Regions from separate parts of the Homo sapiens genome. Here regions 1, 3 and 4 are each linked to region 2. The links are contacts of gene promoters, found by promoter capture Hi-C in blood cells and fetal thymus (Javierre and others, 2016). All regions are on one chromosome and are shown on one strand. The core of a region is centred on a gene start or on the middle of the fragment in contact, and the rest is flanking DNA. Distances in the headings are between cores, read along the strand shown.

Region 1 (2,712 bases), core at 177-2,676, 1.6 Mb after region 2:
AGAAAAAAATGGCCCTCAGATCCATAGAGATTTCTGGCTTTGATACAGATTTGGTGGTGGCAGGAGGAAGTCTCTCACAAGGAAAGAAGTGCTTCAAAAACTATAAGGAGAACAGAGAACCTCAAACATGTTGAGCAAAATATTTCAAGGTTCATATAGTGAGTTGGAAGTTGGTTAGTATGTTTCAAAAGAAGACATGCATGCGGCCAAGGATCATATGAAAAAAGCTCAACATCACTGACCATTAGAGAAATGCAAATCAAAACCACAAGGAGATACCATCTCACACCAGTCATAATGGCTACTATTAACAAGTCAAAAAAATACAGATTCTGGTGGGGTTGTGAAGAAAAAGGAATGTTTATACACCGTTGGTGAGAGTAAAAATGAGTTTAACCATTTTGGAAAACATTGTGGCGATTCCTCAAAGACCTAAAGAAATAAATATCATTTGACCCAGCAATCCCATTATTGGGTATACACCCAAAGGAATACAAATCGTCCTATTATTAGGACACACATACACATATATTAATTGCAGCACTATTCACAACACAGAATCAACATAAATGTCCATCAATGATAGACTGGATAAAGAAAATGTGGTATATATACACTATGGGATACTATGCAGCCATAAAAAAGAATGAGATCATGTCCTTTGAAGAGACATGGATGCAGCTGAGGCCTTCATCCTTAGCAACTCACACAGGAAGAGAAAACCAAATACCACATGTTTTCATGTATACCTGGGAGCTAAATGATAAGAACGTATGGACACACAGAGGGGAATGTCACACACTGGGGCCTCTCAGAGGGTGGAGGTGGGAGGAGGGAGGGAGAGGATCAGGAAAAATAACGAATGGGTTCTAGGCTTAATACCTGGGTGATGAAATAATCTGTACAGCAAACCCCCATGACACAAGTTTACCTGTGTAACAAATCTGCACATGTACCCCTGAACTTAAAATACAAGTTTAAAAAAAAGAAAGTTGGTGAGTGTGTCTTTTAAAATTTTTGAGGAAAGAATATGTGTTTTATATGGTCAATGATCTCTATGATGTGATACTCCATGTACTGCTCCGTACTGAGCCTTGAGCAGTCCCAGACTGCCTTCTACTTTCCATACCTCAATTCTGCCTGATAACTTTTTCAAAGGCATACATATGGGTATCTGGGATTAGAAAACATTGGTTTCTGAACCTTAATCTACTGCTAATACATTTTTCTCCTTGGTCTATCTGCATATAAATTACTTAAAATTTTGAACCCTATTTTGTCATTATCTAACTAGTGACACACGCTAACTAGTGGCAAAATAACATTCTGAGTAGAAACTCCATCACCTTACATGACTGATGTTTATTATATAATGTGACCTGATCATAATGACGTGTGATAGGAAAAACACTTATTTTTTAGGTACAGTCACTGCCATCATAGACATTGCCATTAGTATGCTTCTAAGAAGCATTGTTAATCAAGTGGCAACATAAGATATTGGAAAAATTATGGGCTTGGGTATCTATCCTAGCTCCACGTCTTACTTGCTGCATGGCTTAATTACTGAATTTTAGTATCCTCCTCTGTAGAGTAAGAAACATGGATGTTAAAGACACAAGCTACATGAAGCATAGAAATTGAAGGAGTACTTTATTCATGGCTATAAAATTAATATTAAACAGACTATTTTCAAATTTTATGGATTTAGTATTAGAGGGATTGGCATAAATGTCACTGGTGATTTGGCCGAGATATTAAAGTATTTATTTATCTAATCAATAGTTATTATTGCAAATAGAAACAAAGTAGTTATCTTTCACTGCTGCCCAAGGCAAGAAGTTAAGTTACTCCTATAGTGTAATTTAAATTTGTAAATTACATTGACTGCTACAATAAGTTCCCCAAATCATGGGACACTTACAAAAAGAAAAGGATAAATGGATAAAAAGCTACGATACTCGAGAATAAATATCAGTGTAACTTTTTTGAGAGGTCTGCCTTTCAGAAATTGCAAAAAAATTCTAATGATACTCATCTGTTTCAAAGAGAAATGACATGAAAAATCTCATAAAATGTTTCACAGATATATTACGTATTAATATCAGTTCTCATTTCCACGTAAGTATAATTTTGAAAGTACTCTTACACAAGATATCATATTCTAGTCACATAACATGTCTGTGAGTTTGGCAAAGCAAAATGATTATCCACATAGCACAGTAAAACTGCTGACTGGAGCTGGGGCTTATTTGCTCCTATTCCAATCCCTTTCCAATGTACCACAATGTCTTCTTCAACAGATAAACATCCATGTATTGCTAACAAATAGGGGACCACGGCCCCTATGAATCAATTTCTGCAGTTGATGTTGAGTGGGGACAGGGAAACTATGGAAGCTCCTCCATGGGCCAATTAGCTAATACCCAGTGAGTCTCTTGGCTAAATAGACTCTGATACCAGAGTAAAAGTCTAGCAAGAACAACTCTGGTGGGGTAAATGAGAAGGCACAGAACTGCCAGGAGGAGGTTAAAACCAAGAAAAAATGTTCTTGTATTGACCAGAAATATACTCACTTCAACATCTTCCTGATTCTGTCAAAATGAGGATTTGCTGCTGAACTTGGGATTGACTCACTGTGGGATGATTTTCAGGGCCTCTATTCCCATCAGTAGATTATTTCTTGGTGTGCCAATATTTATTCTGTTGTTG
Region 2 (2,992 bases), core at 452-2,951:
AGACACAGAATCTTTGTTTCAGTCCATCCCACACTGTCCTGTCTCCACACCCCCAAAAAAGTTTCAAGATCTTTACCCTAAATTCCTTCACTCAGCATGTCAGCAGCATGAGTCTAAGACCATGGCCAGCATTAAGTGCTGACAGTGTTTTAAGCACTTGGGTGTCATAATGCATTCAGTCCTCACAACCCTATCATTTCTCCACATTTCACAGAAGAGGAATATAAGGCCGAAAGGCACTTGATCAGGGTCCCAGAGCTGATAAGTGACAGAATCAAGAATCAAGTGGTCCCAGACATCCTGGTACCAAGCCCATGCCTTCAGCCATCTACTAAAACATCTCCCAGTTATTGAGCGTCCACTGTATACCAGGTGCTTAACACAAATTAGCTGAGTCCTTGCAAGTTTGCTCAAAAAGAGCCGCATTCCCTGCCCTGACCAACGAGGACATGAAGGCTCTGAGAGATTAAAGGGCTTGCCCGGAACACACAACTAAAGCCCAGCCTGTCTCTGCATCCAAAGCCTGCACTTTTCCAACATCACTACGATGCCTCCTGGGATTTTATTAGCTACTCCCCCCCTAGAAGGAAGTATCATTACTACCACTTTACTGTTAAGCACATTCACAGGACAGAGAACATGAAGATAACTGTCTTCATATTTAGGCAGTTGGGCTTCAAAACTGCTCTTCAAAACAGGGGCTGGAAAAGGGAGAAAAGGTCCGCCTACTTGTATCTTCCTCCCACCGTGCACAAACACGCTGGAAGCTAAACGGCTTAAATATTTAAATGGCATGTGTGTGAAAGCACTTCTACTTTGTGACAGGGCCATGTTGCACATTAGCTCTCAATGCTATTTGTGTGAACCCGCTTCATACTTTTTAAAGACAAAAATGCTCTATTCATCATTTTATTGACATTTCATATTTGCAGGTTTTATTCGCCTGCGAGGTTAAGACATTTGAAACACAAATCCTGACAAACGCACAGACCAGCAACTCGAGGAACTCAGACGCTTTGGCTCTCGGTGCCACCTTTAAATGCTAAACCACCGGTAGGTAGTCGCTAAATGGGAAAGTCGTGTTCTCCCGGTTTTCAGGTGGGAAAAGCTGAGGCTCCCAGGAGTCTAGAACTCCTCTCATATTGCCTTTCTCCCTGGATCAACTGGGAATGATGATAACAGCAGACTGCCCCCCACGCGTGATAAGGAAAAAACCTTGTAATTATAATAACTTTTGGAGCTACCTCAGAAATTAACAACGACGAACAGAAATCTGCGCAATCAACAGGAGCCAAGAAGAAAAACTCGGCTCCGCAGGACAAGTCCCGGGCACAGTTCTGCAGGAAGCCTCAGGCCAGATCAGGCACCGCGGCTCACACAGAGGTGACGCACGAGTGACCCACAGAGAGGGACCCCTGGGCCTCTGGTGGGGGCCTGGGAGACGGTCGAAGGGGGCCCGGGCAGAAGCTCCGCGGCCGGGCCGGCGGAGGGAAGGGGGCGGCCGCGCCCGGGACCCGGCTCCCCTCGGCTCCACTTACCTGCTCCGAAGAGTGGCCCCAGCTCTGCGCCTCTTCCTGCGACCCCACACACAGGGACAGCCCCAGGCACAGCCCCAGCAGCAGGAGCATGGCGGGGCGAGGGCGCGGGACGCTCGGGGACCCGGCGGGACACGCTTTGCAGCGCCCAGGGCTCCAGCCACTGCGGGACGCTCTCGGGGCCGCCCACCCCGCGGTCCCAGCCCGGACCCCGCCCACCCCACGGACCCAGCCCGGACCCCGCCCACCCCGCGGTCCCAGCCCGGACCCCGCCCACCCCACGGACCCAGCCCGGACCCCGCCCACCCCACGGACCCAGCCCGGACCCCGCCCACCCTGCGGTCCCCTCCTGGACTCCGCCCACCCCACGGACCCAGCCCGGACCCCGCCCACCCCACGGACCCAGCCCGGACCCCGCCCACCCCGCGTCCCAGCCCGGACCCCGCCCACCCCACGGACCCAGCCCGGACCCCGCCCACCCTGCGTCCCCTCCTGGACTCCGCCTACCCCGGTCCCAGCCCGGACCCCTTCCACCCCGCGGTCCCCTTCTGGACTCCAACTCTCCCACCCCAGCCCAGACCCCACTTCCCCGCCCCAGACCTTCCCACACCCTGCCTCCCTGGACACCCCCCAAGCCCGGCCTCGCCTCCCTGTCCCCAGTCAGGACCCAGCTTCCCCAGGTCCCCAACCCCAAGCTCCGTTTCTCCACGCCCCCATTTCCCCCCACCTCCCCAGTCCCGGCCCCACCTCTCCTGTCCCTGTCCCCACCGAGGCCAACTTCCCAGACCCCACCTACAGCCACCCCCTTAAACCCGGCCCGCCTCCCTGTGGCCCCCACACCAGCCCCGCCTCCTCCCCAGTCCCCACCCCGCCCGGCGCCGCTTCCCGGCCTCAGTCCCACCAGAGCCGCGCCTCCAGCCCCCAGTGCTGGGCTAGCTCTGTTCGGGGAGAAGGCATTCCAAGCCTGCCTCGCCGCGCACAGCAGGGGCCACCTGTGTTGGCCCCACGGACCCCTCCCACACCCTCCCATCCTGCGGCTGTGACACTTAACCAAGGACCAGTCTCCTCTGTAGAGCCTCCTACTCCGTTTCTTGCCAACACCCACTGCCTCCCGGGCCCTACCCCACGCGCCCCCGCAACTCTTTCTTCCTCTCCCTCAAGGTGCAATATGCTTCTTTGCGGACTTGCTTAATTTCTGTCGCCAGAGGACGCGAGAAGGCCAGCCTGGTCCTCAGCACACAGCCCACCCCGCACCTGCCAGCCTGAAGCCGGCAGATCGTCCCCTCTGCATTGGCCAGGGACGCTTAATAGGCAGGACAAAGGATACTACCTGCAGTCTAGCGCAGGAGGGACTAGCAAGGCTGCCAGCCTTTATGTTCTAAGGAAACAGAGGAGACGAGGGAAGTATCTTGGTAGCGTGTAGTATTTCTGAGTTTCTGGTTATTAATCATGTAAGT
Region 3 (2,958 bases), core at 380-2,879, 1.7 Mb after region 2:
TTTATCATGATTTATAGATCCTCACATAGGGAATGGTATACTAATAGTAAATATTTTACTAAATGAGTAGAAGTTGGAATATGATAAAAACATATAATTGTCAGGTAAAAAAAAATAAGGGAGTTTTTTTTCCTTTATTTTATTCTAGTGGTTGGAGGAACTAAATCTTGTTTTCATTGTTAGAATGCTGACAGAACTTAACCAAACATACTTTGAGATTTTTCAAGATCTTAATAAAATAATGAGTATATGTAACTCTCTATGTTGAACAAGGCAATATTTGAGTATCATTCCACTGCAACTTTTATTAATCATGTTTTGGTTAAACGTATGAGTTTCTGGCTACAGATAATTCATATTTTGCATCAGAAAGCAATCCTATTTGAATAATTTCAGTAATCTTCACACCTACATTGTAAATACTCTTTTTAAGATTTAATCATTGATTTGACTATTTATTGTCTCTCATGTCTCTTAAATTCCATTTCTTCTTCTCTTGTATATTTTTGTTTCATTTATCTCCAGTGCATTTTTGATAACAAAGCTTTGTTGGTGACAACAATTTTGAGTCCTTTCATGCTTTATGATAAATGATACCTTTGCCCTCAACTTAAATGATAATTTTTGTGGACAAATGTCTCGCTCCTAATATTTTTTTTCCACAGAATTAGAAAAGAAGTCAATATCTTTTGTTAGCATCTATATTTTCAACGGACAAATTTGAGGCTAACACTTCTGATTTTTTTGTACATCCTTTGAGTTCAGAAACTTAAGAAACATTTAAGTAAGTGTCTACTTTTTTTGTTGTTGCTCAAAGGGCCACTTTAGTCTCAAGATTTGTTCTATTACTCAGTTCATAGAAATTCTTCAACAAATTATTAATTCAGTCACAATTATCACTTCTCATCCCACAATTCAATAACCTCATTATATATATATATAAAATATTATATATACATATATACAATTTTTTTCCTTGTTTTTACTAAGACTTTTGCTAATGGTTACTGGATCTGCTCAATGTGTTCTCCACAGCTTCTCACTTTTATCTCACTTCTTGGGTCCCCATTTTTCTATATTCTGGGAGATTTCTTTGACTCTTTCTTGCACAATGCTAATTCTGTCTTCAGTCATGCCCTTTGACAGAGAGCTGGCTGCTGACTGCAGCTCATTGTCTGAGTGGCTCAACAGGGAGGTTTCCCCTGATGGTGTTTGGGTGAGGAGAGGGAAAGGAAGGTGGAGAAGTGCATAACTTTCATTAGAAGAGACCTTTACATTCGTCATGGAGAATTTCGTTGTGTTTCATTGATAACCAGGGTTGTCTTCCTTTTCCCCCACTTCATACTATTTCAGAATTTTAGAATGTACTTCTCTTTTGTCCTTCTTAATCGCCCACTCCCAGACCCCACTTTCAGAATGCCTCCTTCTCCCACAGGCATTTTCTTTTGCTTAAAGAGATATTTTCTGTGCCTTAGTCTGAGGACAAACTCTACATCTCACCATTCTGTATGAACAGTAAGGAGGAGCATGGCTGACCCAGCTGCATGGCCAATAGTCCTTTACATGATCATCCTTGTAGCTACCCTCTGATCAACATGCCTTCCTTGCACTTTTAACCATTCCTCAGAGTTCCTCCAAGGCTTGTTGAGTGCTTCATGAAGAACAGCTCCTATCCCTGCAATGGTTCTTTTCTTTGTTGGTGTTGGCCTATTGTTTTCACAACTCACTTCTGCCTTAGCCAATCTCATCTGCTCCCTGTCATCCATCAATTCTTTCAAATATGTTAATAAACTTTCCCTCTTCTTCTTACAGATCTGTTATTGATTTACATGTTTTCTTGTACATTTTCTGTTTTACGTTTTTTTTTTTTCACCAAAATCTTTGAAGGGGAGGTAAACAGTGACACTCAGTCTCCTGCATTGAAGACCGAGGTTAGCAAGCCTTCTGGATTGGCTGAATCAACTTCAGTTACAACCTCATTCCCCATCTCTTTCTACTATTGAAGTTCTAAAGTCTAAAAAACTACAACTTTAAACTCCGTTGCAGTTAGAAGTGGCTATATGACTCAGTTCTGGACAAGGACATATAAGCAGAAATCTCACAGGAGGGTTTTCGTTCATCAATTAAGAAGGAAAGACTTGGCCGGGCGCGGTGGCTCATGCCTGTAATCCCAGCACTTTGTGGGGCTGAGGCAGGAGGATCACAAGGTCAAGAAATTGAGACCATCATGGCCAACATGGTGAAACCCCATCTCAACTAAAAATACAAACATTAGCTGGGTGTGGGTGGCACACACTTGAAGTCCCAGCAACTGGGGAGGCTGGAGCAGGAGAATAGCTTGAACCCAGGAGGTGGAGGTTGCAGTGAGCCAAGATCGCGCTACTGCACCCCAGCCTGGTGACTGAGCAAGACTCCGTCTCAAAAAAAAAAATAAATAAATAAAGAAAAGAAAGCCTTTTGTCTTTTTCATTCCCCCTTCCACCTTTGCATTTTTCCTTTCTCTTTTTATCTGGTAACCTTCAGAGAGCCAGCACAGGACCTAAACCAATGTTCTAAGGATGGTGGAGTATAAATAGAGAAATGCTCTCAGCCTCTGATGGTGTTGGTGAAGAGTGGAATCAATACGAACAATACTTTATCCAGAGGTTTTTTTCTTTTTAAGAGAGGACCCTATTTTTTAAAGCTACTCGTAGACAGATTTTTTAAAATTACCAAAAGCTTAATGCAACCTCAGTAAGGCTTATTTCTTTCTCAGCAAAGCACAAGTTACAATAGTCAAAGGGACTCCATAACCTTGAGTGGATTACTAAACTACCTATGTTTATTTCTGCTTACAGATTTAATGATAATAGAATATGTCATTGAAATAGATCCCATTGATGAATAAATATTAATGATCAATAAAACATTATTAACTTAATATTGTTAAATTAAAATTTAGATAGTACTATTCCCCAG
Region 4 (2,700 bases), core at 128-2,627, 1.6 Mb after region 2:
GCACCTGCCTTCAAGAAGCTTACAGTCTATCAGAAAAGAATGACATTGAGCTAGTAATTCTAAGTATTACAAAGCAGAAATTTAGGCAGCCACAACTGTATGTAGAAGGAAACTCAACCTGGTTTGGGAGGCAGTGCTATGAAGCCATAGGCCAATTCTCCAAGGAACTACTTGCATTTAAGCTAAGGTGCGCAGGCCGATTCTCCAAAGAACTTGCATTTAAGCTAAGGTGCCATAAAACATTTCGATGTAACAAATGGGAAAAAAATAGACCACACCTAGATACTAATGCTGCCTGTCCTCTTCTTTCATTGAGGAAAGAAAAGCCAAATTAATGCCCAGTTTCAAGTAGAAATATATTTTTGGTTTTGCAAAGAGAGTGTTGGGTTTGGTCACATACAAAAAAAAAGAAAGTCAAGGAAGAAATCACCTGTCGGGTTTAGATATGTAGAGTCAGAAGGATGTAATCCTAGACAAAGAGAAAGGCATGGACATTGGCAAGAAAAAGCACGGGGAGTTCACAAAACGTGTAGGGCTGATCTCCAGCCAGGAGCGCACATTTGTTGTTTAGTGTCTGGTGTCTATTCTGATTGGTTCAAAAAGACTTTGCTGAAATGGCGTCTTCCCTATGGAGGCACCCCAGTCCCACTAATGCTTCTCCTTCCCAAAACACTTACTTAATTCTTCTCATAGCACTTTTATTTTTATAACAGATGTTGTAATTTACTCATTGATTATCCTATTTACTCTCTGTATTTTCCCATTGGAATAAAAGTAAGGGAAGGATCTGCATCTGTTTTGTGTGTTGATGTATTCTGAGCTTCTAGACAGTCCCTGACTTACAGTAGCTACTATAAAAAATTATCGAATTGAACCTAGGGGACCTGACATGTTTTGCTCCATAATTCAGTGGTTCATTGCTGTTGTCCGCCAGGTCAGTCTGACTTGCTGTAGCATATAGATTCCAGCTAGTGGAAGGTATAGCTTTTCCTAAAGCCCTGGGCTGGAAATGGTACAAGTCCTTTGCCTTCAAATTTTATTGTCAAGAACTGAATCACATAACCACACTTAACTGCAAGTGAGGATAGAAAATGCAAAAACCACCAGGTGTGGTGGCTCACGTCTGTAATCCCAGCTCTTAGGGAGGCAGAGGCGGGAGAATAGCTTGAGTCCAGGAGTTTGAGACTTGCCTGGGCAATATAGCATGACCCTATTCTCCACACAAAGGAAAAAAAAAAAAAAAAAGTGTAGCTCCCCTCAAAAGCAACAACCTCCCCAACTTTAAAAAAAAAGAAAGAAAATGCAAAAAGCATATATCCCCAAAGAAAGGAGAGTGTATTTTGATGGACAATTGAGAGTTTCTCTTACTTTGACCATACAACCAAATCACTGAAGGGAAGGTCTCTTCTTCAAAGTGTTACTGCTTCTTTCAACCAAGGCAGAGGTGTTTGTGAGAAAAAAAATCAAGTACATTCCTTTGCCAATATTAGAATGTAACTGAAGGCATTATCCATCAATATTTTGTAAGTATTACAGAGGCAAAATTATGGAAGAGTAGCACATTGGCCTCATCAAAATATTTCAATAGTTAATTATATGCTATATATTTAAGCATTACATACCTCAGATATATTTGTATTGTCAAGAGATCAATCATCAAGTTAATAAATTATGCAACTTAATTTTAAGTATGATTAGCCTAAATTATTAATAATTAAAAATTACAAATGTGGAAACAACATATTTAGAAAGTTACACGAAAAAATTTAAAACCTAATTTCTTTTTCATTGATTCAGTAAAGTTCCCATCATCTTGTTTATAGAAATTAGTATTCTAACTACACTTATCTTTTTAGTTTACAAAGCTAACAATCAAATTGTTACATTTTATACGTCCAGAAGAGCTAAGAGAGCATTTCTTGCCCTCTTAGAATGAGAGGGGAATTCACACTTAATGAGTGACAAATGTGTGTCAGTAAATCATATGCATGTTGATTTTCCAAATAGCTTGTGAGAGGGGCTTTGGATCTAGGTTAGTCTAAATCCAAAACCAAAGGAAGTTGTTCTAAAGAGGCCCACAATTTATTAATTCATTTATTCATATTACTTATTAGACACCCATGTATAAATGTCTAAGTGCTGAGGGGCAGAAACCTTGTCTGTCTTGTTAGCAATGATAGTCTCAGTGCCTTAAACATTGCTAACAGGATTATGCATTCAAAAAAATCTTTGTTGAATGAATGAATGAATGAGTGAATGCATGCTCAATGGTTGAAAATTTACTGTGGGCAAATCATTGTGCTCGCTGCTCATAATACTGTGCTTGGGGTAAAACCTTGAGGATATTATATGAGGTCCCTTAAGTCTCTCTCTCTCTGTCTCTCTTTCTTTCTTTTGATTTGAATCCTATACTTCTCCTATGACAAGTCTGATTAAAAAAAAAACAGTTTTTCAGGATCTAAACATTCAGGAAGTTCCTCTGGTATTTGTAATTCTTTAATGGCGCAATATTTTCTAGACCACTAGAAATGGTGCAATATTTTCTAGACCACTATTTATTTACATAACTAACTCATTGCATATAGCTCATTTAAAAATACCTTTTCAGAGGGAGGTGATGAAAATGGAATTGGGTACTTCAAGGAATCTCAACTAAATGATTATTTTTTAAAGGCAAACTTGGCCTTTTGCATTAGTATT

The links. Contacts are between HindIII fragments. The CHiCAGO score rates a contact against its expected background, and 5 or more counts as called.
Region 1: a fragment that was not itself captured here is called in contact with the fragment with the promoter of ITIH5 in region 2 in 9 of 17 cell types (M2 macrophages, erythroblasts, endothelial precursors and 6 more); the score reaches 11.2 in M2 macrophages.
Region 3: a fragment that was not itself captured here is called in contact with the fragment with the promoter of ITIH5 in region 2 in 1 of 17 cell types (M2 macrophages); the score reaches 5.5 in M2 macrophages.
Region 4: a contact is called between a fragment that was not itself captured here and the fragment with the promoter of ITIH5 in region 2, in 1 of 17 cell types (endothelial precursors). The highest score is 7.5, in endothelial precursors.

Annotation. Positions count from the first base shown.
Region 1 is chr10:9,305,818-9,308,529 of GRCh38, forward strand. No RefSeq gene overlaps it. Among named protein-coding and RNA genes, the nearest start is that of LINC00709, 32 kb to the left of the region's middle. The HindIII fragment of the contact is 7,013 bases long and covers 1-2,712 here.
Region 2 is chr10:7,665,265-7,668,256 of GRCh38, forward strand. ITIH5 (inter-alpha-trypsin inhibitor heavy chain 5) reads right to left here and starts at 1,702. Exons shown (of 14, transcript NM_030569.7): 1 at 1,539-1,702. The coding sequence starts at 1,628. The HindIII fragment of the contact is 13,140 bases long and covers 1-2,992 here.
Region 3 is chr10:9,325,943-9,328,900 of GRCh38, forward strand. No RefSeq gene overlaps it. Among named protein-coding and RNA genes, the nearest start is that of LINC00709, 52 kb to the left of the region's middle. The HindIII fragment of the contact is 2,174 bases long and covers 543-2,716 here.
Region 4 is chr10:9,287,500-9,290,199 of GRCh38, forward strand. All of the region lies in intron 2 of LOC101928272 (a long non-coding RNA gene), which reads right to left. Among named protein-coding and RNA genes, the nearest start is that of LINC00709, 13 kb to the left of the region's middle. The HindIII fragment of the contact is 2,722 bases long and covers 17-2,700 here.